Linked DNA regions of Homo sapiens: regions 2, 3, 4, 5, 6 and 7 are each linked to region 1. The links are contacts of gene promoters, found by promoter capture Hi-C in human tissues and cell types (Jung and others, 2019). All regions are on one chromosome and are shown on one strand. Each heading gives the region's core, a stretch centred on a gene start or on the middle of the fragment in contact. The rest is flanking DNA. Distances are from core to core; before and after follow the strand shown.

Region 1 (4,155 bases), core at 1,474-3,973:
ACTGATGTCTAGGGCTCTTTCCCTTCTCTGAGGTTGCCTCCCATTGTCAGACACTGGGCTGTGTTGAGGCAGCAGGCAGGGCACACTTGGGGGAGGAGACAGCTGAATTTACAGACACACACAAACAGGCTGTCAAGGTATTTACACTGCATACAATTAGCTGCAGAGTATTCACAAGTGGATTAGCTACAGCAAATGTTCAATCCCAGCCTGGCTAACTTGGTCCTCTGTTCCCCCCACCCCGCCATCATGAACCTTCTTTCTCCTCCAGGCTAGTGTGTGAGTTTAGAGAGGGCAAAGTCAAGAGAATGTCAGCTGAGTCAGTGCAGTTCTCTGTCCCCAGTAACTCACCCCAAAGCCAAAGAGGAGCAATTGACTGCTGTTTGGTGTTGGAACAGCTAATTGGAAAATCAGAGCGCAGTTTCGCACGACATGGAGAAGTACACATTCAGCTCAGAATGGGCAAAGCCAGGAAGAGCCACAGTCGCTGTGATCACTCCCTGAGAGCTTCCTGGAAGGGGTAGAGACTTCCAGGAACCCTCTAATAATGGGAAGAGGATGACAATAGAAGAAGCTATCCCTCATCACTCCCTCAATTGGCACCACTTCCTTTTCTGACTGGATGGGGGAGGCGGGAAGAGGCATGGTGGCTGTGTATCTCTGTGGGACAGAAAATGAATTTTTTGCCTTTGAGGTAACAGTCCGGGGCTGGGGAGTGAAAGGATGGCTACCCTGAGGGTATCCCAGGTCTGTGATATCTGGCCATGATGGGCATCATTCGTGAATTCACTGAACATGTCTGCAGCTGGCATCTGCTGGGAGCACCGCACTGAGTCTGGACTTCCTATCAGCCTTGGACCCACGGGGTAGAAAGGAGAGAAAAGACGGAAGAGGGCACAAGGGAGGCGCAAACGAGTGGAGGTGGGCTAGAGAATAGGAATCTTCGGATGTTCTCGGGCTTCCTGAGATGGACAGAAAGGGGGCTGAGAAAGGAAGGTGGAACCCCCCCATGCCACCAGGCACTTCCCGACACCTCCCGCTCCTCTTCCAGCAGTCAGGAGCGCGCGCTCCGGTGGGGCTTAAGCCCTGGAGAGTCAAGGGAGGAGAGACCCAGCAGGAAATGGGCCTGGGGAAGGGACGGTTCATTATTATTATTTTAAAAAAATTTATGTTTCAATTTATATGCAGACTAACCTTTTTGGAGTGTGGAGATCTTTGAGTTTTGACAAATGCATAGAGCCGTGGAACCACCATCAAGATATTGAGCAGTTCCAGGGGGCGAAGGGAGGGGGGGTTCGTAGTCTCCCCGCTTGTTAGCTGCTGCGATTGTCTGCGCTCCCACGGGCCGACCTAAAACAATTCTTGCGCACACGCTGAGATAAATAACGGCGACAGGTGGAGCAGGTGAGATTAGCAGGACCCGGGTTGGGCGCGGGGCGGGATCGGAGGCGCGGGGGAGGCCACCAGCCTCGCTTGCCAGCCTACGCCCCTCCCCGCGGGCGTTTGGGAGGAGCGTTCTCCGCACTCCTGCTCCGCGAGGGCCCCTTCGAGGCGGCTGAGACCCGAGTGCCGGACTCCCGCCGCTGGAGCGGGGCTCGGGTTCGGCAGCCGGAAGGAGGTGTGCCCCCGGGGCGCTTGGGGGCGCCTGAGGTCCCGAGGGGAGGCAAGATGGGAAGAGTGGCTAGCCGAGGAAAATGTGGGGTGACTTAGGGAAGCTCTGGCGGAGGGGTCGTGCGAGCAAACCTGTTGGCAACCTGTGGGCCGCGGCAAGGGCAGGAGCTCTCAGCGCGACCTCTCCGCCAGCTGCTCCGGCCCGGCCCCAGCACCAGACGCCTGGAAAGGGGCGGGGGCCTCTCGAGCCGGGCAGACAGCCTTGCAGACCCACAGCCGCGGCCCGTCTCGCGCGGCTGCAGGACCCCAGGAACCGCAGGCGCCCGGCCTTTCCCTAGGACCCCCGCTTCAGTCCCGCCTCCCCAAAGTGCAAAACATTTACGAAGTGTGCAGTGCCCTGCGGGCATGGGTCTCCGAAGCGAGCGGCCGTGTTTGCCCCGCGGGCTGCTGGCAACGGTGCACCCGGCTCGGCCAGCTAGTCTGGGTGTGCAAGGCTGGAGAACAGCGAGTGTGCGAGCGCGCGGCTGCAGAGCCCCCGCCGAAACCCAGGTCCCTCCGCCACTGTCCTCGGGATAGATGGATCCATTTCTGCTTTCTGACATTTTCCTGCTGGGCGGGGTTGGGGGGGAATGTTAGGGGGCGGAGAGAGGAAGAGAGAGAGAGGGAGAGGAGAAAGGGAAAGAGAGGAGAGGAGAGGAAGGGAGAGAGAGCGAGAGGGAGAGAGAGAGGAGAGAGAGAAGAGAGAGAGAGGAGAGAGAGAGAAAGAGAGAGAGAGAGAGAGAGAGAGAGAGAGAGAGAGAGAGAGAGAGAGAGAAAGAGAAAGAGAAAGAGAAAGAGAAAGGCAGGCAGTCAGCTTCCCCCAGCCCTGTTTTGTTTTCTCTAATTGGTCCTGGGGGAGGCGAGGAAATTGGACAGAGGCTGGGCCAGGCGAGCTGGGCTGCCTTTAATTGGCTCCTTTTTTTAACTGGAGGGGAATCAAACAGGAGAGCGAGCGACAACGGGTGGGAGAGCGAGAGACCGAACGAGGAGACGCGAGGAGGAGGGAGGAGGAAGAGAGGGAGGGAGGCGGGAGGAGCGCGGAATGAAAAGCTCGGAGGGGCGAAAAAGCAGCACAGCAAAGCCCAAGTTGCTGAGCGAGCGGAGCGCTCCCGCGGCCCGGAGCCGAGCGGCCGCCGCGCCCCGGAGCCCGGCCCGGCCCCGCCCGCTCTGGGCCCCCGCAGGCCAAGGCCGCCGGGCGGGGGCGGGGACGACCAACTTGGGGCGCGGCGTAGCCCCGCTCTCCCGAGAGCTCGGAGCCCGGGAGGGCTACGGCCGCGGCCAGACGGCGGGAGAGGAGCGCGGCGAGCGGAGGCGGCGAGCGGCGCCCGCGCCGCAGCCCCGGCCTGGGCGAGAGCGCGAATATTTTTCAAAAGACTCAAACTTTCCTCCTTTCCCCGTTTTCTGGGGCCCTTCTTGCCTGGAATTGCTCTCCAGATTCCCGCGGGGCGCCGGGCTGCTATTCTTCCCCCGGGTTTATCGGCGGCTCGGCTAACTTCACGGACCCGGGGACCCGCGGCGCTCGTCCCTCGGCCGAACCCAGCCCGCGCTGCTCCCCGGATCAGGAGGGCCGGGCCCGGGGCTGCTTCGCCGCCGCGAGTGCTTTCAGCCCGGCCCCCTGGAGTCGGGCCGCTGAGCCCACGGCAGCGGCCGCAGGACTGGAAACAGCAGATTGATTAACTCGAGCGGAGCCCCGGCCTCCCCGACTCCGCTCCGCTGAGGGGCGGCCCCAGTGCGGGGAAACGACAAGTTTGTCAGTCGTCCGTGGCCTGTTGGATCGAAGCGCCGCCTCCGCCGCCGAGAGGTCCCCGGCGCCTAGCATCCCGCGCGGACGGCCCTGGGTACCCGGGGCGGCTCGGCGGCCGGGCTCCTCGGGTCGGGGCGCTGGCTGCTGTGCCGGGCGCGCCGAGGCACCCGGGGCTGGGCCAGCGCCCCCTGCGTCCCCACGCGGGCAGCGGCCCCGCCGGAGGAGAAACACGGGTCGCCGCCACCTCCGCCTCTTCAGTCTCCTGGTCTTCGTCGCCGCTCTCTCTCTCACCTCTCAGGGAAAGGGGGGGACATAGGGGCGTCGCGGGGCCCCGGCGAATGCGCCCCCCGCCGCCTCTCGGGCTGCGCCGCCTCGCGGGGATGAAGCACCGGCCGTGAAGATGGAGGTGACCTGCCTTCTACTTCTGGCGCTGATCCCCTTCCACTGCCGGGGACAAGGAGTCTACGGTAAGAGCCCGCGTCCCGCTCCACCTTGGCTTAACCTCGCGCGGAAACTTTGCAAGAGGCGCAAAGTGCGCGCTGCCGGGGTTTGGTGGAGACCTCGACTCGGACTCTGGAGTGGATGCCCGCGTCCCCGCCCTCTCCAGGGCGCGTGGAGACCGAGCTAGCTGCTTCGGAACACAGGGGCCGGTCGTAGGGTCTGGTGGGAAGCCGGGATGTCAGGAGGAGGCACCCACTTTCCCACACCCTGCTAGAGGTGGGAATGATTAGGAACCCTTGAGAGCACCCGGTCGGCTCGGG
Region 2 (4,155 bases), core at 996-3,495, 950 kb before region 1:
CAGTGAGCTGAGATTCGCCATTGCACTCCAGCCAGCCCAGGCAATAGAGTGAGATTCCGTCGCAAAAGGAAATTATAGATAAACCAGAGAAGGAGAAAACCCAAACTTAAGTACAAGGTTCAGTACCAGTAGAAAACAAATTAGAATGCAGATATACAGACCACAGGTTTCTACTCAGGCACTAAAATGGAGCCACACTTTGACTCAGAGCTTCATGGCAGCTAAGGTGAAAAGGAACACATATCCAGCTATGCAATTCACTTGCTGTAAGCAAGACACATCAGTTATTCAAGAGTAGCCAAGCTCTTCATGATACCTGGCTCTGAAAGAAAATTCTCATGTGATCAAGTGCACAGTAACAATCCTATAGTAAAAGCTATTGGAGCTTAGAAGATGATACCCCAATATATGGCACTTTGAAGTACTAAAGAAGCAGCTTCAAAATCTGACACCTCTTCACCCACATCCCATCTCCAATCTTATCTCTCCTAAAGCTCAGGATGAGGCTCTTCTCTTTAGTTCCCTTATATACCTATAAATTGGACCCATCAAAGAGGAACACAATTGCCTTTGATTCCCTCCCTGAAATTAACTAGAGATTAAACCTCACATCAGAGGAAGAGACTGAAAATTAAACACCACATGTAGAGCCCAAACTTTGTCCCAAACTATCATCCACTTTCCCTTCCCACTCAATTCCCAAAGAGAATCATTTACTAACCATTGCCTGAGCATTGGAGCCATTTATTCCTCCTAAAAATAACTTACTGTCCCTTAAAATTACCACATCTCCCCCATCTCTCCTTCTCTTATTAAGGGTATATAAGCATCTGGACCTCGTTGTGTTACTGGATAATCATTCTCCTGTGATTCCCCTGTGCTTATGCACGTTAATAAATTTGCATACCCTTTTCTCCTAATCTGCATATTGTCAGTTCATTTTCAGCACAGCTTCAGAGGGCAGAGGGGAAGCTTTGCCTATTTGCCCACACAATGCACTGGTGGGCTCTGTGGAGTTGTCTCTTCCAGAATTGCTTAACATATGCAGAAGACACAATACTCAAAATACAAGCCATGAAAACACTCTTGGTGGTGGATGAGGAAAGTTTCTGTGTGTGTGCTCAGGACAATATGGTCAGGTATGCAGTGTCCTGATGGACCAGCTAATATTGTGTGGCTGACTAAAGGCAGATACATACTGTTTAGAATTCAGTAATCTAAAAAGCAGATGGTAGAGGGCTGACAGCCTTTTGTGAAGAGTGAGTCACCCTATTAAGATTCTCACCTAAATAGGAACATTCCTCTCCATATGGTAGTGAATAGAGAGAGCCCCTGCAGGCAATCTAGGATTTTCCTTAAAAAAACAACACTTCAAAAATAAAAAAAATAAGTGTTCAAGACCATCAAGTTCCATCCAATAGAGCAAGAGGTCTGCGAACTCACAGACAAGTCATGTTTTTCTTTTCTTTAAAAAAAATTCCCATTAGTTACCAATATTTAGAGGTCAACAGATTTCAAATCTGGCAACTTTGGATGCTTATACCACATAGCAACAATCTGCTGGGCTGAGTATAGAGTACTTACCCACCTGCCTAGGCCATTTAGGCATTAGAATGCTCTGTTGGAGAATGATCAAAATTTGGATTGAAATTTTTCAAAGAAGAAATGATCAGTTGCTCACTCTGACGGTAGGAAAATCTAATTAATGCTCCCATGAAATGTATGGCTTTTAGCAAAGTGGCTGGCCAGTAAATCTACCTGGAAGAATTACTTGCAAAACATACCCTTAAGTAAATAAATTAACGTGGTATTTAGTTACTGGATCTAAGCCAATTAAATTTGAGGACATGTGCCCTAAAAAATTATTTTAGTTTTGGAACAGGTGATCTTGATCCATTCCTTCTGATAAACGGTGAGCAACAAAATCAGCCATAAAGTTTATTATAATAAAATATCATCAGCATATAGGAAGATAATGGGTTTTTTGATTTCTAAAGCGAGGGAGCATGTGTCCAAATAACCTAAAAGTGGTTTCAAATTACTTAAACATAAGTTAAAAACAAGAAGGGCTACAACTATTTTATGCTACCTAAAATACTTTTTGATCCGTCTGAACAATTCTATTGATCTGGACTTTCCAGGTCATACAGAAGTCTTGGTTTTATATGAACCTGGATTCTATATTTAACTCATGCAACTTAACCTGAAACCAGCTCTTATTCACAGAGTCAAAGCATGAGAAATCATTTGAAGCTTCAAACGTTCTTTTAAGAACAAAGTTTATTTTTCTAATTATAAAAATTATCATTGTACATTGTCAACAATTTGGAAAATAAAGAAAATTTACATTATTTTTCTCTCAACTATTTATTTTTAAAAATTTCAAAGCAACAGAATACAGATATGCAGGCCAATTCACCCACTTACAAACGCTGAGCCAACAAATTTACTCAGAGCTTCTTGGCAAAGTGAAAAGTGAAAAACAGGCAGTTATATAATTCACATTGCCTATAAAGAGAAAACACATCAGTTACTCAAGGGTAGCCAAATATTTCATGACTTGTGGCTCAGAGAGAAAATTCTCTTGTGTTCATATGAGGAACACAGAGTGATATCACACACAACAACCTGTCAACTATGCCTTCTAGAATTCCTCAGTATAAGGGAAAGGGTACATAGTATGAAGCCTGGGGGGTTAAAAGCATGGATTCGAATCCTAGCTTTATCACTTATTAATTGTACCTTGAGTAATTACTTAACTTTCTATGCCTTGGCTTCCTGTTTTATAAAATATTGTGAATAATATCACCTACTTCAAAGGGCAGTTATGAGGCTTAAATGAACTAATGCCTACAAAACACTTAAACATAGATAACATAGGTGCAAGTACTATGTATCTGGTACATGGTAAACATCCTTATTATTAAAGTCAACGCTAAAATGAATGTGTGTGCATATGCTAATAGTACAGAGAGAGGGCACTTAAACCAACTAAGGGCCTGAGGGAAGGTTTCCTGGAAAGAGGATGCTTGTGCTGGGTCCAAATCTTGGTCTACTATGACCTTGGCCAAATTATTTAAACTTTGTCCCTATCTGCTAAAACAGATACTTTGTCAGTGATCTATACAATAAGCTAATGTTTACAAAATTAAGTAAGATAATACATGAGGATTAGACAAGCAAATGTATTAAAGCATGGCATTAGTGACAAAAAATATTTCCTCTTGAATCTACTGGAAAAATATAAATTATTCTTGCATTTAACTTTTATTTGTGTCCATTTTAACAACTAACCAATTTTAGTTTAGAAACAGTTATATATAAATATTCATTTAGATCACAACAAAACTACCTAGAAGGAATGTTAGGTGACAACGCTGGTTTAGCACAATTCTCCTGTTCTTTTTTTACCTCCATGGAAATGCCTTAATATATTTGTGTCCATTTTTGAGGCATACTGTGTTTACTTAACAGTGTAGGTAAGTACAACACTCTTGACTTCCATTAGATAGAGCTAACTGCGCCCTTATCTGTATCACTTTATATATCCCTCATTTCACTTCATACAGATTCTGTTATAGTATATTGTATTATACTTACAATATATTTATATCTAGCTTTTAGGGTCTTGCTCTGTTGCCCAGGCTGAAGTGCACTGGCACAGTCATAGCTCACTGTAATCTGGTAATAGCTCACTGTAACCTCAAACTCCTGGGCTCACCCAATCCTCTTGCCTCAGCCTCCCAAGTAGTTAGAACTGCAGGTGCGCACCACCACACCTGGCTAATTTTTAGAAAATTTTTGTAGAGATGGGTGTCTGGCTATATTGCCCAGGCTGGTCTCAAACTCCTGGCCTCAGGTGATCTTCCCATTTTGGCCTTCCAAAGCACTGGGATTACGGGGCATGAGCCACCACAATCAGGTCTATCTTATTATTTTTTATTTTTATTTATTTACTTATTTTAATTTTTTTTTTGAGACAGAGTTTTGCTCTTGTTGCCCAGGCTGGAGTCCAATGGCGAGATCTTGGCTCTACACAACCTCTGCCTCCCGGATTCAAGTGATTCTCCTGTCTCAGCCTCCTGAGTAGCTGGGATGATGGCATATGCCACCATGCCCGGCTAATTTTTGTATTTTCAGTAGAGACGGGTTTTC
Region 3 (4,155 bases), core at 621-3,120, 930 kb before region 1:
ACTTCTCTTCTCCCCTGCTTTCTTCTGTGTGGTTATGTTATTCATTTGAACTACAGTTTGGTTCATTTGATTCTGTTTATGTTTCATGTTAGGTGCCCCTCTCTCTATTTTTCATTTTATTTATTGTCCTTTTTTGAGTATGTGAAATGTTAACATGGTTCCAAAAGTTGAAGTTATTCTCAGAGAAGTGTCACTCCCATGTCTTCTGTCCCTTCTACTTTGTTCCTACCCACTCCCAGATAGATAATCTGCTTATCAATAAAAAAGTTATGACCCTTTTTGCGCATGCCTCACAAATACACCTTACTTTAGGATATATGGAATAGAATTGCTTAGTCATATGATAGGCAGAGCTTCAATTTTAGTAAATAGTAGGAAACTGTTTTCTGAGGTGGTTAAACCAGTTAAAATTTTCTAGTTATTATTGATCCTTTTTAGTAACAGCATGAGTCTCACTCCTGTCAAGCCTGCTAATACTCATGCTGCAGTTTTTAGTTAGTACCTTGCTAAAGTCCTGGAGATGAAAGTCAGCCTAATAAATCTTTGTAACATCTCATTGAGCGACTCATTTGTTAAAAAAAAATCACTTTTTAAGGAGGTAATTTATAAAAATGGTACAAAATTTTAAAATATGACAGCATTTACAGTGGAAATTAAGTCGCCCTCCCATCCTGACCCCACAGACATCCAGTTCCACCTCTTTGAAACAGCTTACCATTGGTTCATTGCCAACACCGGTGCTGTTCTTGTGTTTGGGGATGCAGGGGTGAACAAAATAGGCCAAGATCTGCCTTAATGGAGTGTCCATTCTACTGGGGGAGATTGAAAATAATAAAGTTTCTTGCATATCTATTCAGAAACATGCTGTGTATATGTGGCATATTCTAATGTTTATTCTTAAGCCCATATATATTGTACTGCATCTTGCTTTTCTCTCATTATATCTTGGAGGCTGTTCCATATCAGTACCTTAATGCCTACAGAGCACCATGTCATGGATTTCTTAATACAAGCTTGTCCAAAAATGAGCTAATTTGGATTATGAGAATTTAATTTTACTAGTTTTATAAGACACCCCTAATCTGGCTTATCAGCACCTCATTTCATGAGTGCCACCTTTATTTTCTGACCTGCATCATAAGCACCACTGTGAAGCCATCTTTGCCGTGGTGTAATTGGTGGGTTGGTGAAGTTCTCTCAGATAGTTCATTTGCTGCTTTAAAGTGGTAATAATCTTGTATGCATTTGCATAGTTTTCATTGATTTCTTTGCTCTCTTTACTGGTCTGTCACCCCTAGATTGAAAGTTTAATTACGTAAACATTAAAATATGTATACTTTACTGAAGTAATTGTGTGCCATTTATTTCAGTGGTAATTAAATTCTTTTGATGTGGAGAAATCACCAAATGAGTTTTTTAAGGAAGGTTAATTCTCTCAAGGCGGGATGACTGTGTTCTACTATTTCTCTAGCTCTTTGTGGTCAGTGCTTCTTTAGGGCCTTCATTTAATTCCTCACTTGTTTACCAGTGATTGAGAAACTTCTAAAATCACTCACACCTTTTGTTTTAGGCTTGATTGCAGCAAAGAGCATGTAGTCACTAAGTGGAGTGGTGAGTAGGCCCCGCTATTTCTAACTTATTCCATATAAATAGTTAAATTCATGTAAGTTGAATTCGAGTATGGTGTGGCTCCTTTATGATAAGAATTGACCTAATTCAGGTGGAGCTGGGAAGGAGATGCCCAGGCAGCTTCTCTTTCATCCATGCAAACATGTGTTGACCTCTTGCTAGGTAATATTAGGTGCTCTGGGTCCAAAGGAGAATCATTTGTGGTTCCTGCCCACAAAAAAACTTGTAGTCTAGTAGGAGACGGTTAATGGGTACAAACAAACAAACAAACAAGCAAAAAAGAATGAATAAGACTTAGTATTTGAAAACAGAACAAGGTGACTATAGCCAATAATAATTTAATCGTACATTTAAAAAATAACTAAAAAGAGTATAATTGGATTGTTTGTAACACAAAGGATAAATGCTTGAGGGAATGGATACCCCATTTTCCATGATGTGATTATTATGCATTGCACGCTGGTATCAAAACATCTCATGTACCCCATAAATGTATATACCTACTATGTACCCACAAAAATTAAATAATAAAATTTTTTTTAAGTATGTGTGGAGCACAAGGTTGAACAGTTGGCTGTAAACTGCATACTCTCAACTCTGGGGACATTGGCTTGGGCTCAGTCCAACAAATTGAAAGTCCTTGAAACTTTTGGGAGTATAGACTTAACTTATGAGAGTTGGGGTTAGGTGATTCCTCTGTAGCCTTCAGGTGACTCCTGTTCCTGAATGGAGTGTAATTTGTTGTCAGTGCAATATACATGTCAGAAAGAAAATGTGAGAAGGAAAATGATAGTATGAAATGACTGTTACATGTGAAGCACTGTACTATGTCCTTCATGTGTTTTATTTTATCCTCATAGTTACCCTTTAGGGGCAGCGACCATTTTCTAAATGAGAAAGTTGAGATGCTGTATCTCTCCTTATTCTATCTCAGGTTCTGCCTTTGAATGTTGTGACTTTGAACAAGTCCCTCAGTTTTCTCATCTGTAAAAAGTCATAGTTATGATGCTTGAATTCTTTTCAGCTCTATGTTCTAGGAATCTGTGAATATTTACTAATTGTGTTCTTGTTTGGGCAGGAAAGAAGGCTATTCAGGGAATTACTCCCTCTTAGCAAATTAATAACTTAATAGTAACACTGTCAGGTTGTCCAGACCAAATAATTTATTTTCCCATCACAAAGTGAGTACCCATTATGTATGTGGCCTTAGAAAGCTACTGTAAAATAAATCAAGTAAATAGGCTTGGTGACAGGCTCTCCATCAATTGTTACTAGCCCTGGGCAAATGGGCAAGTAGCTACCTGCAAGATTATGTGATGATTTTAAAGTGTGTTATAGGTTAAATGCTAAGTATTTTTATTAATTTAGGAAGTACTTTGGCATATGGCCTTTAAAATTACATTATTATATTATCGTAAATCTTGACTAAGGCAACAAAACATGTTTACTGTGGCCAACTTCACAGATGGGGTGAAACGGTGAAATATTTTATAGCATGTATAATGAGCTACTAGATGATGATGATTTTCTCTTCACATCTGAAAAATGTGAGTTGGGAAATGAATTAGAAGCTTTAAAGGTCTACTTAATTGTGAGAATTAATTTCAAGAAATAGTGTCATGTACCCAGTGAGTACTTAATAATTGAGGAGGAGAAGGACAAAAGGGAAATTATGAAGCTTTCAAACCTAAGTCCATTTTGGAAAAAGGTTAGAATAAAAATATAATACTAATGTAACTATGAAAACTGCCTTACAACATGATACAAAAAGAAACAAAATTAGCAAATACTAGACATTTCAAGATTAACTATTCTCCTAAATTGGAGTCCATGTATTCTAGGTACACTAATTCTTGAAACCAGTTCTTATTAGACATGGAATCTCCCCTCATAGGACATGATGAAAATTTATAGGAGTATCTTTGTCTTCTAATGTAATTTTATGAGATAAATATTATTTCATTATAAATTATTTTATTTTGTTTCTGTCTTACAGTGTTTTTTTTTTCTGGATGGGGGGTAGGATTTTGTGTACCATTTTGTGTACCATTCTGTTGCATAATGTATTTCTATTTTTGTTTTTATTTTTTTACTATGCTTGATTTTAGCCAAAAGGCTGAGAAGCAATATTTAATTTTTTTAAAGATAGGAGTCTCACTCTTTTGCCCAGGTGGGTCTCAAACTCTTGGGCTCAAGCAATCCTCCTGTGTCCAGAGTTGGTTCCTGCCAGTGGGTTCGTGGTCTCTCTGACTTCAAGAATGAAGCCGCGGACCTTCGCCGTGAGTGTTACAGCTCTTAAAGATGGCACAGACCCAAAGAGTGAGTGGTAGCACGGTTTATTGTGAAGAGCGAAAGGACAAAGCTTCCACAGTGTGGAAGGGGACCTGAGCAGGTTGCAGCTGCTGGCTGGGGTGGCCAGCTTTTATTCGCTTATTGTCCCTTCCCATGTTCCATTTCTGTCCTATCAGAGTGCACTTTTTTCAGTCCTCCCCGCAATTGGCTCCTTTTAGAATCCTGCTAATTTGC
Region 4 (4,155 bases), core at 781-3,280, 900 kb before region 1:
TCCATTCTCAGTGTAAGTCCTTCGTCCCCCTGCCTTCCTACTGTTCTTCCTCCCACCTTGAGGCAACAGTTTGAGTGAATACATTACCCTTGCCCTATGCTGTGAGGATCAGCAAGTTTAGACTCCAGGACAGTCAGTAGGGGCAAATTGAAGAACACTTTGCATCTGGGAAAATCTGCCTTAAGTCTAGAAAAAGTCAGACTGAAACTCTCTTAGGTGAAGATCTTTAGTTGGGATATATCAGATGGAATGTCCTAGTAGGCCATGCTACCCAGGTATCTGATTTACCTGTCTTAGTGTAATGAACTTTTTTTTTCTCTTGCCAGTTTTAATGTAATGAACTTTATGTCCTTGCCTTCAAGTTGTTAATTACTTTTTCTCTGTGGAGATAATACATAGCCCTTCTGCTTGCCATTTCTGTCTTAGTCACTAAATCAATTTCTATTGCTTATGGCAAATCCAAACACTTATCTCACAAACAAAGCAATTTATTTTGTAATTTTGTGGCCAAACTTACTGACATATTTGTTTATAGTTTTACTACAAATAAACATTATAAAATTTGTAAACATTACAAAGTATGTAGTGCACTATGTAAAATTTTCCAACAGCCCCAGTCTAGTGACTTAACCCTTGGTTAACAATTTGACTTATATTCTTGCTTTTTCAGTGTATTTTTTTAAACAAGATATTTCACTATACTATTGTTTTGTAGATTGTCTTTTGCATGTAAATACACATACTTAAGATTTTTTTGTTCATTAGTATCTAACTTTATTCTTTTTAAATAATTTATAATATTTCATTGTATAGACATACCATTATTTATTTAACCAATTCTCTTTAAATGGGCCTTCAGGGTTTTTTCCAGTTTTTTTGCTTTACAGAAAGTGCTGAAGCTGACATCCATATATATTTCATTTTGTACTCTTATGTGACTGTTCAGCTTTTTTCCAAATGGCTAGCCAATACCTTTTATTGAAAAAAATCCTTATTTTCCCCCATTTAATTGAAATGCTACATTTATATAAATGATGCTCCTAGACTTACAATATGGTTACGTCCTGATAAACCCATGGTAAGTTGAAAATATGGATCTTTTTATAATATTGGATCATTCTATCCCCAAACAACTTATGTCTTTGTATTTTTCTTAAATCTTTCAGTGGAGTTTTATAATTTCCTTACATGTCCTATGAGTTTATTACTACATGTTACATGTGTTTTGCAATTATAAATTGCAGATCTTTTTACTAATATTTTCTAGCTAGTTGTTTTTGGCATGGAAGAATGCTAGATATTTTCATATAATTATTTTATGTGGTTACTTTAGTGAACCCCTCTTATTTTCTCTAATTTTTTTTCAGTTGATTCTCATGGATTTTTCATGTGGGCAGTCATTATCTGCAAATATTGATTTTTTTGCCTCTTTGTTTCCTAATCCATTTAACTTTAATTTGGTTTTCTTTCTTTTCTTTTTTATTTTTTTGAGACAGGGTCTTGCTGTGTTGCCCAGGATGGAGTGCAGTGGCACATTCATAGCTTACTGCAGCCTTTAACTCCTGGGCTCAAGTGATCCTCCTGACTCAGCCTCCCAATTAGCTGGGATTACAGGCTCATGCCACCATGCCTGGCTAATTTTTAAATTTTTTTGTGGAGACAGGGTCCTGAACTCCTGGTGTCAAATGATCTGCATATCTTAGCCTCCCAAAGTGCTGGGATTACAGGCATGAGCTACTGTGCCTGGCCAGCATACTTTTTAAAATACACATAGGTAGACTGAAACTATCACTTTGTAGGTAAACTATCCCATTGGTGAAACAATACTCATTTTCTGCGTAAAGCTGTGCCATTGGTAACTTTGTTAGTATCTTTTACATCTTTGCAATAAGATTCAAATTAAATTATATCCTAAATAAATTTTTTCTGTGGATGTTTTTGTATACTTGTACACCTGAGCAAGGGATGGAAACCTACAACAATATAGAGTCTAAATCAGTGGCTGTTTTTCCAGGTTGCTTAGTAGAATCACTTCAGAATGGTGATTCCAATGCCTGGGCCCCATTCTAGACTAATTAAATAAGAGTCTCTGATGAGTGGGACTCGAGCATCTTTTTTTTTGTTGTTTTTAAGCTCCCCATTTGATTCCAATGTTGGGCAAGCTCATTGAGAATCACTAGTCTAATTAAAATTATTTATGTATGCCAATAAAATTGTGTTTATTTTATCCTAAGTGGCTGTTTTCTATACACGAAACAGTTTCATGTTTCCATTTGGAAAAACATAATTAAAATGCAAGTTTAGCAAAATGAAATTAGATGTATTGAGAAGTAGAGATCTGGAGAACTTATTATGGTAGATACATATGTAATATTAATGTTTATGATATATCAGTTTAAGAAATAAATTTCCCTTCTGAGCTGGTTAACCAAAAATCAATCGTTGTTCATCAAGAGTCATTTAGTAAGTAATATGAGTATTAGCCATGACCTCAATAAAATATTAAGAAAATATACCAGAAAATATATTAAATATATTTACTGGGTATATACATTGCATTTTTTTTCAGCCAGGAAGAGCGTTTTGTTTAGAATCATGCACGATCATTGAAATATTGGAGAGTGATGTGAGAGTTTGTATTGAAGAGGTTTTGAAGTCAGGTACCAGTAGCTTTCTGAATTTCCTGACCAACATAGGAAATGATCATAGGAACATCAACTGGGTAACCCAGCAAGAAACAAACAAACAAAAAAACTCCCAGTCTGATCCTTTGCCTAGGGTACAGTCAGTCCCTGACGTCAGTCCTTGATCACGGGGTAGGCCAGGGGCTAGCAAACTATGACCTGCGAGTCTAATCTAGGTCTTTTCTAGAAATAGTTTTACTGGAGATAGCCATGTTTATTCATTTTCTTATTTCCTGTGGCTGCCTTTAGGCTCCTACCATAGAGCTGAATCATTTGACGTAGATTGTATAACCTGCAAAGCTTTAAACCATGTACTGTCTGACCCTTTATAGAAAGTTTTCCAGCTCCTATATTACACAGTTGTTGTGTGTACACATTAAGACTACTGTGTCACACATTACTTGCTCATACTCTCAAATAGATCCTCTTAAGCTGAATTTGGTCTTTCATACACAAGTGACTAGAGATTATTCTGTTTTTAGGGCTTTCAAATGGAGGCTGCAGTTGAGGGAGAAGGATTTACCTTGGCAGTTAAGGGATTATCCTGCTAGTTCTCTGATGTTCCTACTGTAGAGAACCAGGATTTTGCTCACTTACCTGGGTAGGTGTTTTCTTGCTTAGCTCATTTTCCATGTTCTTCTGCATCGCTGCTATTGCTCCCCCTTTTGAGGGTGGGCATATGGTGGTAGGTTAACTAAAGCAGGCAGATTCGGAACTTGGTCCATGAAGATCTTCCATTGCAGTCACAGAAGAGAAAGACTATTTTTGACACACCTTGCTAATAATGATCTGGATGTGGGAGTTTAAAGATTAAGAGCTGTTCAACCTTTAATTGTGGTTCAACTGGAGAGCTCAAAAAGGTGTGGAGGTCTAGCAGAGATAACATATCTGTCTCAATTTCTCTAGTCTCTGATGCAGCAGAGGCGTAGCTGGCTACCTCTGAGCTATCAACTACCTCTTCACCGGGGGCATCTGAATGCTAGCCAAGCCTCTGACATACTTGCCAGTTACTTACACTTATCAAAGCAGTACCTGCAATTAGCTGGCCATGATGGTGTACACCTGTAGTCCCAGCTACTTGGCAGGCTGAGGTGGGAGGATCACTTGAGCCCAGGAGTTCGAGGTTACAGTGAGTGGTGATCACGCCACTGCACTACAGCCTGGGCAACAGAACAAGACCAACTTTTTTTTTTAAGTACCTGCAAGTACATTCGGTATTAAAAAATATAAACATTTTTAGCTTTCTAAGACTATAACCCCCCACTTTCTTACACGTAAAGCTGTTAATCATATTTTAGCCCTTTGATTTTCAGTTAATTTTGTAGAAAGGCATTGTATACAAAAGCAAGGAAGGTGCCTGGAAATGAGACAAAATGTAATGATGTTCTGGTAAACATTGGCAGCCTGATCATCAGAGCAACAAGTTTGGAAAAGAAGCCACAGTCTTGAGAAAACTGTTGGAATTACTCTT
Region 5 (4,155 bases), core at 1,010-3,509, 860 kb before region 1:
CCCAGCAATCCCATTACTGAGTATATACCCAACGGATTATAAATTGTTTTACCACAAAGACATATGCATGCATATGTACATTGCAGCATTATTTATAAAGCAAAGACATGGAATTAACCTAAATGCCCATCAATGGTAGACTGGATAAAGAAAATGTGGTACATATACACCATGGAATACTATGCAGCCATAAAAATAGAGCGAGATCATGTCCTTTGCAGGAGCATGGATGGAGCCTGAGGCCATTATCTTTAACAAACTAATCCAGTAGCAGAAAACCAAACGCTGTATGTTCTCACTTGTAAGTGGGAGCTAAATAATGAGAACACATGGACACAAAGAGGGGAACAGTAGACACTGGGGTGTACTTGAGCGGGGAGGGTGGAAGGAGGGAGAGGATCAGAAAAATAGCTATTGGGTACTATAATGGGTACCTAGGTGGTGAAATAATCTGTGCATCAAACCCCTGTAACACGGATTTGCCTATATAAATAAACCTGCACATGTATCCCTGAACCTAAATTAAAAGTTAAAAAAAATAAATTTCAAAAAAGGGAAAGCAAAATATTGTGTAGTTTTAAAAATGTTTATATAAAGGATTATATTTAGCAGTAATGTTATGTTTTTATTAATTTGCAAATATTTTGTGTACAAAAAGATTTTGATTTTGCATATATACAAATAAAACATTTTATCGATTTCTGACAAGTCAAAAATAATAGTAATAGCTATTATGATTAATGTGAGATGGTATCGCATTGTGGTTTTGATTTGCATTTCTCTGATGATTAGTGATGTTGAACATTTTTTCATATGTTTTTTGGCTACTTGTAGGTCTTTTGAGGAGTGTCTGTTCATGTCCTTTGCCCACTTTTTAATGGAGCTATTTGTTTTTTGCTTGTTGAATTAAGTTCCGTATAAATTCTAGATATTAGACCTTTGTCAGATGCATAGTTTGCAGATATTTTTTCCCATTCTGTGGGTTGTTTATTCTGTTGATAGTTTCTTTTGCTGTGCAAAACTTTAGTTTAATTAGGTCCTACATGTCAGTTTTTGTTGCTATTGCTTTTGAGGACTTAGTCATAAATTCTTTATCAAGGCTGATGTATAGATAGATGGTATTTCCTATGTTTTCTTTTATGATTTTTATAGTTTGAAGTCTTACATTTAAGTCATTAATCCATCTTGAGTTAATTTTTGTGTATAATGAAGGGGAGAGGTCCAGTTTCATTTTTCTGCATATGACCAGCCAGTTATCCCAGCACTGTTTATTAAATAGGGAATTCTTTCCCCCTCGCTTGTTTTTGTCAACTTTGTTGAAGATCAGATGGTTGTTGGTGTGTGGCTTTATTTCTGGGTTCTCAATTTTGTTCCATTGAGCTACATGTCTGTTTTTGTACTAGTACCGTGCTGTTTTCATTACTGTAACCTTATAGTGTCATTTGAAGTAGGTAATGTGATGCCTCCAGCTTTGTTCTTTTTGCTTAGGATTTTCTTTAGCTATTCAGGCTCTTTTTTGGTTCCATGTGAATTTTAGAACAGTTTTTTCTAATTCTGTGAAAAATGATGTTGATACTTTGATAGGAATAGCATTGAGTCTGTAGATTGCATTGGGCAGTATGGCCATTTTCACGATAGTAATTCTTCCAGTCCGTGAGCATGTAATGTTTTTCCATTCATTTGTGTCATCTCTAATTTCTTTCAGCAGTGTTTTATAGTTGTCCTTGTAGAGATCTTTCACCTCCTTATTTAGACATATTCCTAGTTTTTTTTTTCCCTGTATGTGTGTGACTATTGTAAATGGGATTGCATTCTTGATTTGGCTCTCAACTTGAATGTTATTAGAGTATGGAAATGCCACTGATTTTTGTACATTGATTTTGTATTCTGAAACTATTATGAAAACACCTGTGTGCACACAAACTAGAAAATCGAGAAGAAATGGAACAATTCTTGGAAACAGACAACTTCCTAAGATTGAATAAGGTAGAAATTGAAACCCTGAACAAACCAATATCAAGTTTCGAAATGGAATCAGTTATAGTAAACTTAGCAACCAAAACAAACAAAAAAGACCCAAAAAACAAAAAACCCTGGACCAGATGGATTCACAGCCAAATTCTACCAGCTATCCAGAAAAGGGCTGGTGGTTCCCATTCTACCCATTCTACTGAAATGATTCCAAACGATGGAGGAGGAGAGACTTCTCCCTACCTCATTCTGTGAAGCTAGTATCACCCTGATATCCTGGCAAAGATATGGGAAAAAAGAAAACTACAGGCCAATATCCTTGGTGAACATAGATGTAAAAATCTTCAACAAAATTCTAGCAAACCAAATCCAGCAGCACATCAAAAAGTTAATTCCCCATGATGAAGCAGGCTTTATTCCTGGGATGCAAGGTTGGTTCAACATACGCACATCAATAAATGTGATTTACCACGTGAACAGAATTTAAAACATACGATCATCTTAATAGATGCACAGAAAGCTTTTGGTAAAATCCAACATCTCTTCATGATAAAAAACCTCAAACTAGGCATCAAAAGAACATACCTCAAAATCATAAGAGCCATCTATGACAGACTCATAGCCAGCATCATACTAAATGGGCAAAAGCTGGAAGCATTCTCCTTGAAAACATTAAAAGAAAGGATGTCCACTCTCACCACGCCTATTCAACATAGTACTGAAGGTCCTAGCCAGAGTAGTCAGGCAGGAGAAGGAAATAAAAGGCATCCAGATAGGAAGAGTAGAAGTCAAATTATCTCTTTTCATTGACAGTATGATTCTATACTTGGAAAACCCTAAAGCCTCCACCAAAAGGCTCCTAGACCTGATAGATTTTTTTTTTTTTTAAGAAAGGGTCTCACTGCATCATTCAGGCTGGAATGCAGTGGCAAAATCATTCCCCACTTTACCCTGGAACTCTTGGTCTCAAGTTACCCTCTAACCTCTGGAGTAGCTAGGACTGCAGGCACATACCACCAAACCTGGCTGGTTTTATTTTTTATTTTTTCTAGATATAGGGTCTTACTGTGTTGCTCAGGCTGGTCTCAAACTCCTGGGCTAAAGTAATTGTCCTGCCTTGACCTCCCAGAGTGCTGGGATTACAGGCATGAACCACCAAGAGTTCGTTAAACAACTCTTGGAGGCAGGCCTTATTTATTATCTTCATTTCACACAGCCTCAGAAAGGTTAAGTAATTTCTCTAAGATCTCAAAATCAGAAAAGTGGATTCTAACTTGGCTATGTCCAACTTCACAGTTGGTTGTGTTATACATTGTCACTGAGAAAGAAGCTACTCTCATATCTAAATAACTTTACCCCCCTTATTTGTAAGGCTTAGAAGATATGTGCCTGGTCTGGGACCTCTGTTTTTTTGGGAAGCTTTGTTTATAATATTGGCGTTATCAAGGGATTCTGACAGAGTCCTCATAGTGATATCCTAATACCTTGTTTTTATAAACAGGTAGAAGGTTTACATTGTTGTCATAATGCCTGGAAGAAGGAGGAAAATTATTTATTAGCTAAGATATGGTTTATAACATAGGTAAGGCCCACAATTTTCCAGACACTGAGTATTTCATTTGGTCTTACCCAGGAAATAAGTATTATTGTCCAACTATTGTATTTCACAAATGAGGAAACTGAGGCTTAGAGAGCATATTGAACTTATAATCACACAGCTAGAACATAACCGCTGGGACTGAAGCTGAGGTCTGTCTGACTCTAAAGGTCTTTTTATTATTTATTTATTTATTTATTTTGAGACTGAGTCTTGCTCTTGTCGCCCAGGCTGGAGTGCAATGGCACGATCTTGGCTCACTGCAGCCTCTGCCTCCGGGGTGAAGTGATTCTCCTGCCTCAGCCTCCTGAGTAGCTGGGATTGCAGGCGCCTGCCACCACTGCCAGCTAATTATTGTATTTTTAGTAGAGACGGGGTTTTGCCATGTTGGCCAGACTGTTCTCAAACTCCCAATCTCATGATCTGCCCACCGTGGCCTCCCAAAGTGCTGGGATTACAGATGTGAGGATGTGAGCCACCGTGCCTGGCCCTTTTTTTTTTTTTTTTTTTTTTTTTTTTTTTTTTTTTTTTTGGTGAGATGGAGTCTCGCTCTGTTCCCCAAGCTGGAGTGCAATGGCCCGATCTCG
Region 6 (4,155 bases), core at 1,062-3,561, 740 kb before region 1:
GGAAAAAGAGCTCTAGAGGGTCTCACTCTAGCAATTCAATATTCCAGTTCAGACAGGACTCCTGCCACTCCCACTCACAATTTACATGGCCCCAGCCAGCCAAAGAGGAATAGGAAATTTAGTCTTCCATGTGTCCAGAAGGAAGAGAACTGGATCTAGATATCAGTAAGTAGAAATAATGACTCTAATTATGTATGAATAAATGAATAAATCTTCTTTTAGTTAGTGAAAAGTTACCATGGGGGCAAGTAGCTTTTTAGCACTGTATTTGACAAGTCAGCCCATTTCCATAAAGCTGTTTTAACATTTAAATTGTGGCATACACTTAATATAAAACCAAGTAATAATAATAGTAGCCAACACCAACATAACAGTCTGTATAATCCTCATAGCAGCCCTATGAAAAAGGTACCCTTTTTATCCCCATTTTATAGATGTGGAGTCTGAAGTACAGAGGGGTTAAGTAAGAAGCCCAAAATCACATAATTAGTGAGTAGCAAAGCTAGGATTTTAACTTGGGTGGTCTGGCTCCAGAGTCCAAGCTCGTAATCACTAGGCCGTAGGATACTTTACATTTTTTCACAACAACCATTTTCCTTATTAATATTTGTTAACTAATTATTCTATATGCTATAAGAAAGACTCCAGTTCTCTAGAGGAAGAGAATTGAAGTATCAGCAGTGGGCTGGACTAAGTAACCAGGAAATTTCCATCCAGCCATATGATTCTTTTATGATTCTGGAGTAAATTCACAAAATACTTATCAAGCACGCCAGGCACTGTGCTGACTCCAGGAATTTACTGTAGTGAATAACACAAACATGACTGATCCCTGTTCTCAGAGTATTAGTTCCCATGAAGTAGACAGTCATTGAAGGAAAGCACAAAACGTCCAATGAAGACACATGGCCAGGGGATTTAACCTCTTCTAGATGGTTAAGCCTGGCTCTTTGCTATTAGAGCTGAGGTAGATAAGGAAAGGCAAAAAGGTATGGACAAAGAAGGTCCAGCACTTAGTGATCAGGTACCCAGTGTGAAGAACTGGGAGAAGCCTGTTAAGAAGAGAGCACAGTGACCAAAGGCAAGAGCAGATTAGGTCACACTGATGCAGCCTGTAGAGGCAGGAAACCACTTAAGCAGGGGAATGACACAAGCAGATTTGTATCTTTCAAAACCGCTCCGTTTTGAAGAATCATACCCCTGGGCAGAGGTGTGGAGTGGATTAGAGGGAGCTCAGAGTGGATGGGGAGACCAGTAAGGAGACTGTTTAGTAATTTTGATGAGAGAAGAGATGCTAGCTAGGAGGCTAAGGTCGTAGCAACAAGGGCAGGAGATGTAAATAGATTTGAGAGATTTAGAAGGAAGCCAGTTTAGGACTTGGCGATTAATTGGATGTGTGCATGTGGGTAAGAGGTGGAAATGAGTGAGCGAGAGAAAGAGAGAGAGAGACAAAGAGAGTGTGTTCAGGGCCAACTTCCTGATTTCTGGCTTGAGCAGCTGCCTGCTTGCTAATCCCTATAATGAGTGAGAATGGTGGAGAAGCTATTTTGGAGGAGAGAGGAAGTGGTAGCACTGTATGCCCTTTATAGTGGGAAATTGGGAAATACGAGTTGATATGCCAGAATAAGGGGAAAGTGAGACAGGGGCAGGGCATGCATTGTGAAATGAACATGAAAACACATGACAGAAACAAGTGAACAGTTAGGTGATAACACATCTGTAGGCATTGAGGTGTGGTAAGTTGAGCCAGGGAAAACATATTCTCACCCCTTCACCTAGAAGCAAGACCAGCCTAAACTAATCTTAAGTGTGTTATATATTGGCTTCAGAGGACATTTGTCTGTCAGTGTCAGGGTTTCAGTCTCTGTTGATTCCCCTCACAGCAGCCTGAATTTTTCTTCTCTGATAAAGTTAGTATAGAATTCTAGCTTTGTTTGTTAAATTGTTCATGTGGTCCATTGTGTTACAAAGTCATACCACCACAATCCATTTGCCTGCCAAGTCAATACTTGCTTCACAAACATAGCAGAAATTAAGATGATTCTGTCTAGCTTGAGTTTCTTACAATTTTTTTTTAAAAAATCCTTGATCCTTTTATGTTTTAAGAGCACAAATGGGCCAAGCGCGGTGGCTCACACATGTAATCCCAGCACTTTGGGAGGCCAAGGCGGGCAGACCACCTGAGGTTGGGAGTTTGAGACCAGCCTGACCAACATGGAAAAACCCCTATCTACTAAAAATACAAATTTAGCTGGGTATGGTGGCACATGCCTGTAATCCCAGCTACTCAGGAGGCTGAGGCAGGAGAATCACTTGAACCTGGGAGGCAGAGGTTGCGGTAAGCCGAGATTGCACCATTGCACTGCAGCCTGGGCAACAAAAGCGAAACTCCATCTCAAAAAAAAAAAAAAAAAAAAAAAAAGAGTACAAATGAGTCTGTTCTATATGACCTCCAACTTTCCTTCTTCACAGGAGGGACATCTGTTGTTAAACAGTGTGGACTGGGTGAAGCTTCTGGGGTCATCATATTAACTTCTTTGGGTGTATTCTTCCTCTCCATGTACTTAGTACTTCTGTTTTTATTTTAAATATATATATAGTACGACTTTTTTTTGAGATGAAGTCTCGCTCTCTTGCCCAAGCTGGAATGCAGTGGCGTGATCTTGGCTCACTGAAACCTCCGCCTCCCAGGTTCAAGCCTCCCGAGTAGGCTGGGACTACAGGCAGGCACCACCATGCCCAGCTAATTTTTATATTTTTAGTAGAGACGGGGTTTCACTATGTTGGCCAGGCTGGTGTCGAACTCCTGACCTCGTGACCTGCCCGCCTCGGCCTCCCAAAGTGCTGGGATTACAGGTGTGAGCCACTGCACCCGGCCCAGACTCTGTTATTATAGGAATTCACAGACAAAATGTTGCCCCTACAAAACAGCAATGGAGCCTAACAAAAACTGTCTCACCAACATCAGCATTATGAAGGCACTGTGATTTTGTTATATGTATTTCTGTGCAATCTAGTACTGGGAAGCTATTCTCTCTTGCCGCAGTTTTGCCTGGTCCCTTAAAATAGGAACTTTTACCATCTCGGGAATTTTGGGAGGAAGGCTTCATGCATCAGAGAGGGGCTGTAGAACCAGACTGGGTTATCTCTCAGCTCTGTACTTTCTAGTTGTATACCTTTAGGTATAACTGTATGACTTTAACTTTTGTTTGGGCCATATGTAAAATTGGACTGTTGATAACATCCACTTCATAGGTTGTTGTCAGGAATAATGAGGTAATATATGTAAAGCACTTAGAATAGTATCTGGCACCCAGTAAAAGCTCAATAAATGCCAGCTATTATTGCTTTCTTAATATCTCTCAGAGGCTGGGTGTGGTGGCTCATGCCTTTAATACTAGTGCTTTTGGAGGCCAAGGTGGGAGGATCACTTGAGCCCAGGAGTGTAAGACCAGCCTGAGCAACAAAATGAGATCTGTTTCTATGAAAAAAAATTTTTTTTAACTAGCCAGGCACGGTAGCGGGTGCCTGTAGTCCTAGCTACTCCCGAAGCTGAGGTGGGAACATCTCAGATGTTCAAGGCTGCCGTGAGCCATGATTGGCTCGCGTTGTCCAGCCCGGACGACAGACTGGGACCCCCTCTCTAAAACAAAAACATCTCCTAGGATAAGGTGATAAGTTTCTTCTCTGTAACTCTCTATAGCATCTCATATAGGATTCTGTATTCAAAAGTCTCCTGCAACCACCTCCCCACCCCCAAATTTGTAGGAATTGGCAAACAAATGGGGAGGGACTAGGTCCCTCCAAAGGATCTACTACCACCCAAGAGAACACATTCTTAGCCCTTCACCTAGAAGCAGGACCTCTAAATTGGCCCTTTTTGGGACACAGGCTACCTTGGCCAGCAGCCCCACAACACTTTGGGCCTGGAATTGTGTCACCCAGTGTTTCTGTGCTCCTTAGAAGGTTTCTGTTTTACCTTAGTGTTGGCTCTGAGTTCTATGAAATTTACCCTTGGGGTTGTGATTCTCTTTATTGCCTTCATAGGCAGTCACCCAGCTTCTCCACTTCTCCACAGGGTGTTTCTGGGAAGCATATGATAAAATGGATTATGTTTTCCTACAGGAAAAGTATAAGTGCAAATTACTTTGCTAA
Region 7 (4,155 bases), core at 927-3,426, 710 kb before region 1:
TTGGGTGTCAGTAGTTTTAGGAGAGTAGCTAAAATCATGATATACATGAGTTGCCTAGGACAGGTATATAAAGTAAAAGGAGAAAGCCGGGCACAACTCTTAAATAGCACCCTTGTTTATGGGACAGCATAAAGGGAGAGGGCCATGCATAAAGGAGAAGGATACTGATGAACAGCATAGGAGAGGCAGGAAGAAAAAAAGGAAGAGTGATATCACAGAAGAATGGGGTAGTCAGTTACATTAAGAGTGCATAGCAGTCAGCAGGGCTGAAAAATATCTGAACAGATCCCATGGAGTAGTGGGGGTGGAAGACCAATGGCAGGCAGCATGCTGAGGAATAAGTGGGAAGAAAGAAAGTGGAGATTGATGTGAAGGAAAAAGAAAAAAGGAGAAAGGGCAGTAGCCAGAGGGAGAAAAGGGTCTTTCTGTTGGTTGTTTTTAAAAAATAATATATGGTTGGGGGAAAAATGATGAATTCAAATCATCAGGGCCTTGTGACTTACATCCTTCATTATTCAGAGAATGAGTAAAATTTATTGGGAGAGCCACTATTAGCTATTATGTATGAGATGCCATGGAACACAAAAGACAGCTATAAGAATGAGAGAATACCTTCTGGATGACCCCAGTAGTTATGGATGTCTTCCTATTCCAGATAGCAGGGAGAATATTACAACATATTATCAAGCAATCCACTTAAAATAAGCACCTTCACAAGCACAAGGTACTGAATAGCAATGATTTTGTTTTTGTAAATGGCGAATTTTGTCAGTTCAGTCTCTTTTAGTGATAGTCCACAAACATAAAGATAAGGTAATAAATGTAACACCTAAACTTCTGTGAAACTTTTGGGGGTACTCTGGACTATGTTAAATGAGCATATAGCTGCATAATAGCTACAATAACAGCACTTGTCACTTTGTCTGGAAAGTGTATCTAGGTGCCAGGCATTGTGCAGAACACTTTACACATAACAAATCATTCAGTCTTCACGAAAACCCCATCAATAGACACCTTATTACAACCATTTTATGGATTATTATTATTATTCTCATTTTATGGTTGGGAAACTTGAAGGTTACACAGTAGGTCAGTGAGACAGAAGGGCTGAACCAGGCATCAAAGTAATTGGTTTCTAATTAGAATATTGTTTAAAAAAAATAGTAGTTGTGTGACCATGAGCAAGTTCCAGCATAGGATGGGATACACTACTCTTTAAAAAAAGCATGAAGTCCTAGAATGTTTGTACAGGAAAATGACATGTAAAACAGAGATGTACCAGTCACATCACATTCTTAGAAAATGATGTCCCTTTTTGATCTCTGTATTTTGAAAGTGATGAATAACTGGCTGGTCTAGAGAAGAGCAATCTAGATGATTAATTGGTTAAAAAATAAGCCTGCTGAGAAAAGATGTAAAACAGGCCTTGCAAACTAGAGGTCTAAACAGTGGCATTTTTGTTTGGCCTATACAGTGTAAGGAAATAAAAATTGGATGCCAGCTCTTAAAAATTGGGAAATTTCTCTTAAAAATATCCAAATCACCAGCTGCTCTTGAAAAATAGGAAACTTTTTCAACATCAGATCCACAGCCCCCGCTGCCTCACTGCAGTGAGTATAAGCATATGTTCTCCAGTCTGTCCTCATCCAGCTCGCATGCCACCCACGTGGACATTTCAGTTTGTCTTTCCTAGTTTAAGCCACGTTACTGAAGAGGAGTCTAAGTTTGGGAAAGAATACTTTTTAAAAGAGGGATGTTATTGTCCTCCCTAAGGGCATAGTTAAGAAAAAAGAAGGAAGGAAGGAAAGAAGGAAAGGATGGAGATGGAAGGACTAAGCTTAATTTGAATCAAAAGAAGAGTTTGGTAGGAAGAAATGATTTCCTAAGGGTTAGGCGGTTGGTAGCAGGGCCACACATTGAACAGTTCCGTTAAGTACCACTTTATATAGTCCATGTGCAACTACTCATCATATACAACTATACACAGTGGGCTAGACTGGGAATTTCTAAGGCAGTTTACAAAATTTCCGACTGTTTTGTTGTTGTTGTTGTTGTTGTTGTTTTGAGATGGAGTCTCGCTTTGTCACCCAGGCTGGAGTGCAGTGGTCTGATCTCGGCTCACTGCAACCTCCACCTCCTGGGTTCAGGTGATTCTCCAGCCTCAGCCTCCTGAATAGCTTGGATTATAGGCACACGCCATCACATCCGGCTAATTTTTGTATTTTTAGTAGAGTTAGGGTTTTACCCTGTTCACCAGGCTGGTCTCAAACTCCTGACCTCGTTTGATCTGCCTACCTTAGCCTCCCAAAGTGCTGGTATTACAGGTGTGAGCCACCGCACCTGGTCAGACTTTTTTTTTTTTTTTAATGTAGTCCAAATGGCTGCTGGCTCCTTTGTACACTGTTACATAGTCGTAAGACTTCAGCTGCTCCCTCAAATGTCCCCAGTTCCTACCCACAGTGTATGAGAGGGCCTGTTTCCCTACACTCTTAACAACAGAGTATGTTTTTCAAACTTTGAGAGATCTAGTTGGTGAGAGCTTTTCATTTCTGTTATCGAGAAGGAAGTTGAGCATATGTTCGTGTGTTTTGGGGATGCTTGCCGATCTTTTCTGTGAACTCCGCTTGGTTCTGTCTTCCAGTTTTCAACACAGGCTTCAGTTCTTTATTTTAGGAATTCTTTATATATTAGGAATATTAATCTCTCTGTGATAGAAGTCGCAGATATTTTTTCTCAGTTTTTTGTTTGTACTTTTGTGTTGCTTTTTTTTGTTTTTAGTATGTAGAATTTTGTTTTTTATGTAGTCAGATTGATCAGTCTTTTTCCTTTTTGCATCTGGATGATGAGTCACATAGGAAATGTTTCTCTACTTTCAGAATATAGAGGAATTGACCCATTTTAAAATTATTTTATTTTATATATATGTGTGTGTACATATATATGTATGTGTGTGTGTATATGTGTGTGTATGTGTGTACACATATATATATATAGGCAGAGGCAGAGTCTTGCCCTGTTGCCCAAATGACACAATCTTGGCTCATTGTAACCTCTGCCTCCTGGGTTCTATCGATCTTCCCACTTCAGCCTCCTGAGTGGCTTGGATTACAGGTGCACGCCACCGTGTCTGGCTGACTTTTAATGTTTTTTATAGAGACGGGGTATTGCCATGTTGCCCAGGCTGGTCTCAAACTCCTCAGCTCAAGTAATCTGCCCGCCTTGGCCTCCGAAAGTGCTGGGATTACTGGTGTGAGTCACTACACCTGGCATTTTTTTTATGCTTAATATTTTTTCATTTTTTATATTTAAGTCTTTGATTCATTTGGAATTTATCCTCATGTACAGTATGAAGATGGATCTGATTTTTTGTTTGTTTGCTTTGGAACTAAAGCACATTGAGAAAGAATGTATCCGATTTTATCTTTTTCCGTATGGCCATCTGGTTAACCCAACAATACTTATTAAAAAGCCCATCCCTGATTTGCGTTGTTGCCTCTGTTAAATAATAAACATACAATTTCAAATGTAGTTTGGCTCTATATCTTGGGTTTTCTACTCCACACCACTGAGCAGTCGATTCATGTGCCAATACTACATTATTTTATTTATAGAGGCTTTATAACATGTTTTAATATCTGCTCTTCTTTTTCAGGGTTTTCTTGGCTATTCTTGCATGATTGCTCTTCTAAATTAGCCTTATAATCAACTTATCTAATTTTGATGGGGAATGGGTTATGGTATTCTTACTGAGATGTTATTAATTAGAATTAGAGAGTAGTGGCATCCTCTGATCTTGTCTTCCTCTCCAAGAACACGGCGTGCAAGTCTACTTTCATGCCATGTTCTTTTTTATGCATGTTGCCCCTCAGTTTGGGCCAGGTTGAGTATGGAGAGTTGGTAAGGATATTCAAGTAGAACTACCTGGTCAGCAATCAGAATGTGGGACAGGAGGTCACAAGAGAGAGAGGTTGGACTGGAGATACATGCAGGGAACCACTTGCATGAATAATATGTGAATTCATGACATGATATTTTCTTGTTTTTTTAAATTATTTTTTATAGAGACAGGGTCTCACTATGTTACCCAGGCTGGTCTTGAACTCCCAGGCTCAAGTGATCCTCCCACCTCAGCCTCCCAAAGTGTTGGGATTATAG

Evidence for each region. The method cuts DNA at HindIII sites, captures the fragments that hold promoters and counts their contacts. A contact is called where the count stands out against the background at its distance.
Region 2: a contact is called between a fragment that was not itself captured here and the fragment with the promoter of MDGA1 in region 1, in 1 of the 25 tissues and cell types used here (dorsolateral prefrontal cortex).
Region 3: a fragment that was not itself captured here is called in contact with the fragment with the promoter of MDGA1 in region 1 in 2 of the 25 tissues and cell types used here (dorsolateral prefrontal cortex and lymphoblastoid cells).
Region 4: a fragment that was not itself captured here is called in contact with the fragment with the promoter of MDGA1 in region 1 in 1 of the 25 tissues and cell types used here (lymphoblastoid cells).
Region 5: a fragment that was not itself captured here is called in contact with the fragment with the promoter of MDGA1 in region 1 in 1 of the 25 tissues and cell types used here (lymphoblastoid cells).
Region 6: a fragment that was not itself captured here is called in contact with the fragment with the promoter of MDGA1 in region 1 in 1 of the 25 tissues and cell types used here (mesenchymal stem cells).
Region 7: a contact is called between a fragment that was not itself captured here and the fragment with the promoter of MDGA1 in region 1, in 3 of the 25 tissues and cell types used here (adrenal gland, bladder and dorsolateral prefrontal cortex).

The regions. Positions count from the first base shown.
Region 1 is chr6:37,696,451-37,700,605 of GRCh38, reverse strand. MDGA1 (MAM domain containing glycosylphosphatidylinositol anchor 1) reads left to right here and starts at 2,723. Exons shown (of 17, transcript NM_153487.4): 1 at 2,723-3,861. The coding sequence starts at 3,795. RefSeq lists silencers at 1,612-1,681, 1,702-1,771, 2,638-2,767, 2,788-2,857, 2,918-3,047 and 3 more and enhancers at 3,370-4,099, 4,100-4,155. The HindIII fragment of the contact is 32,962 bases long and covers 1-4,155 here.
Region 2 is chr6:38,643,467-38,647,621 of GRCh38, reverse strand. All of the region lies in intron 1 of LOC105375044 (a long non-coding RNA gene), which reads right to left. Among named protein-coding and RNA genes, the nearest start is that of BTBD9, 5.6 kb to the right of the region's middle. The HindIII fragment of the contact is 4,411 bases long and covers 40-4,155 here.
Region 3 is chr6:38,624,166-38,628,320 of GRCh38, reverse strand. All of the region lies in intron 1 of BTBD9 (BTB domain containing 9), which reads left to right. Among named protein-coding and RNA genes, the nearest start is that of BTBD9, 14 kb to the left of the region's middle. The HindIII fragment of the contact is 6,152 bases long and covers 1-4,155 here.
Region 4 is chr6:38,599,020-38,603,174 of GRCh38, reverse strand. The region is part of intron 1 of BTBD9 (BTB domain containing 9); the gene reads left to right. Among named protein-coding and RNA genes, the nearest start is that of BTBD9, 39 kb to the left of the region's middle. The HindIII fragment of the contact is 4,519 bases long and covers 1-4,155 here.
Region 5 is chr6:38,556,961-38,561,115 of GRCh38, reverse strand. The region is part of intron 6 of BTBD9 (BTB domain containing 9); the gene reads left to right. Among named protein-coding and RNA genes, the nearest start is that of BTBD9-AS1, 77 kb to the right of the region's middle. The HindIII fragment of the contact is 5,193 bases long and covers 1-4,155 here.
Region 6 is chr6:38,440,929-38,445,083 of GRCh38, reverse strand. All of the region lies in intron 6 of BTBD9 (BTB domain containing 9), which reads left to right. Among named protein-coding and RNA genes, the nearest start is that of BTBD9-AS1, 39 kb to the left of the region's middle. The HindIII fragment of the contact is 4,862 bases long and covers 1-4,155 here.
Region 7 is chr6:38,410,768-38,414,922 of GRCh38, reverse strand. All of the region lies in intron 6 of BTBD9 (BTB domain containing 9), which reads left to right. Among named protein-coding and RNA genes, the nearest start is that of BTBD9-AS1, 69 kb to the left of the region's middle. The HindIII fragment of the contact is 7,702 bases long and covers 1-4,155 here.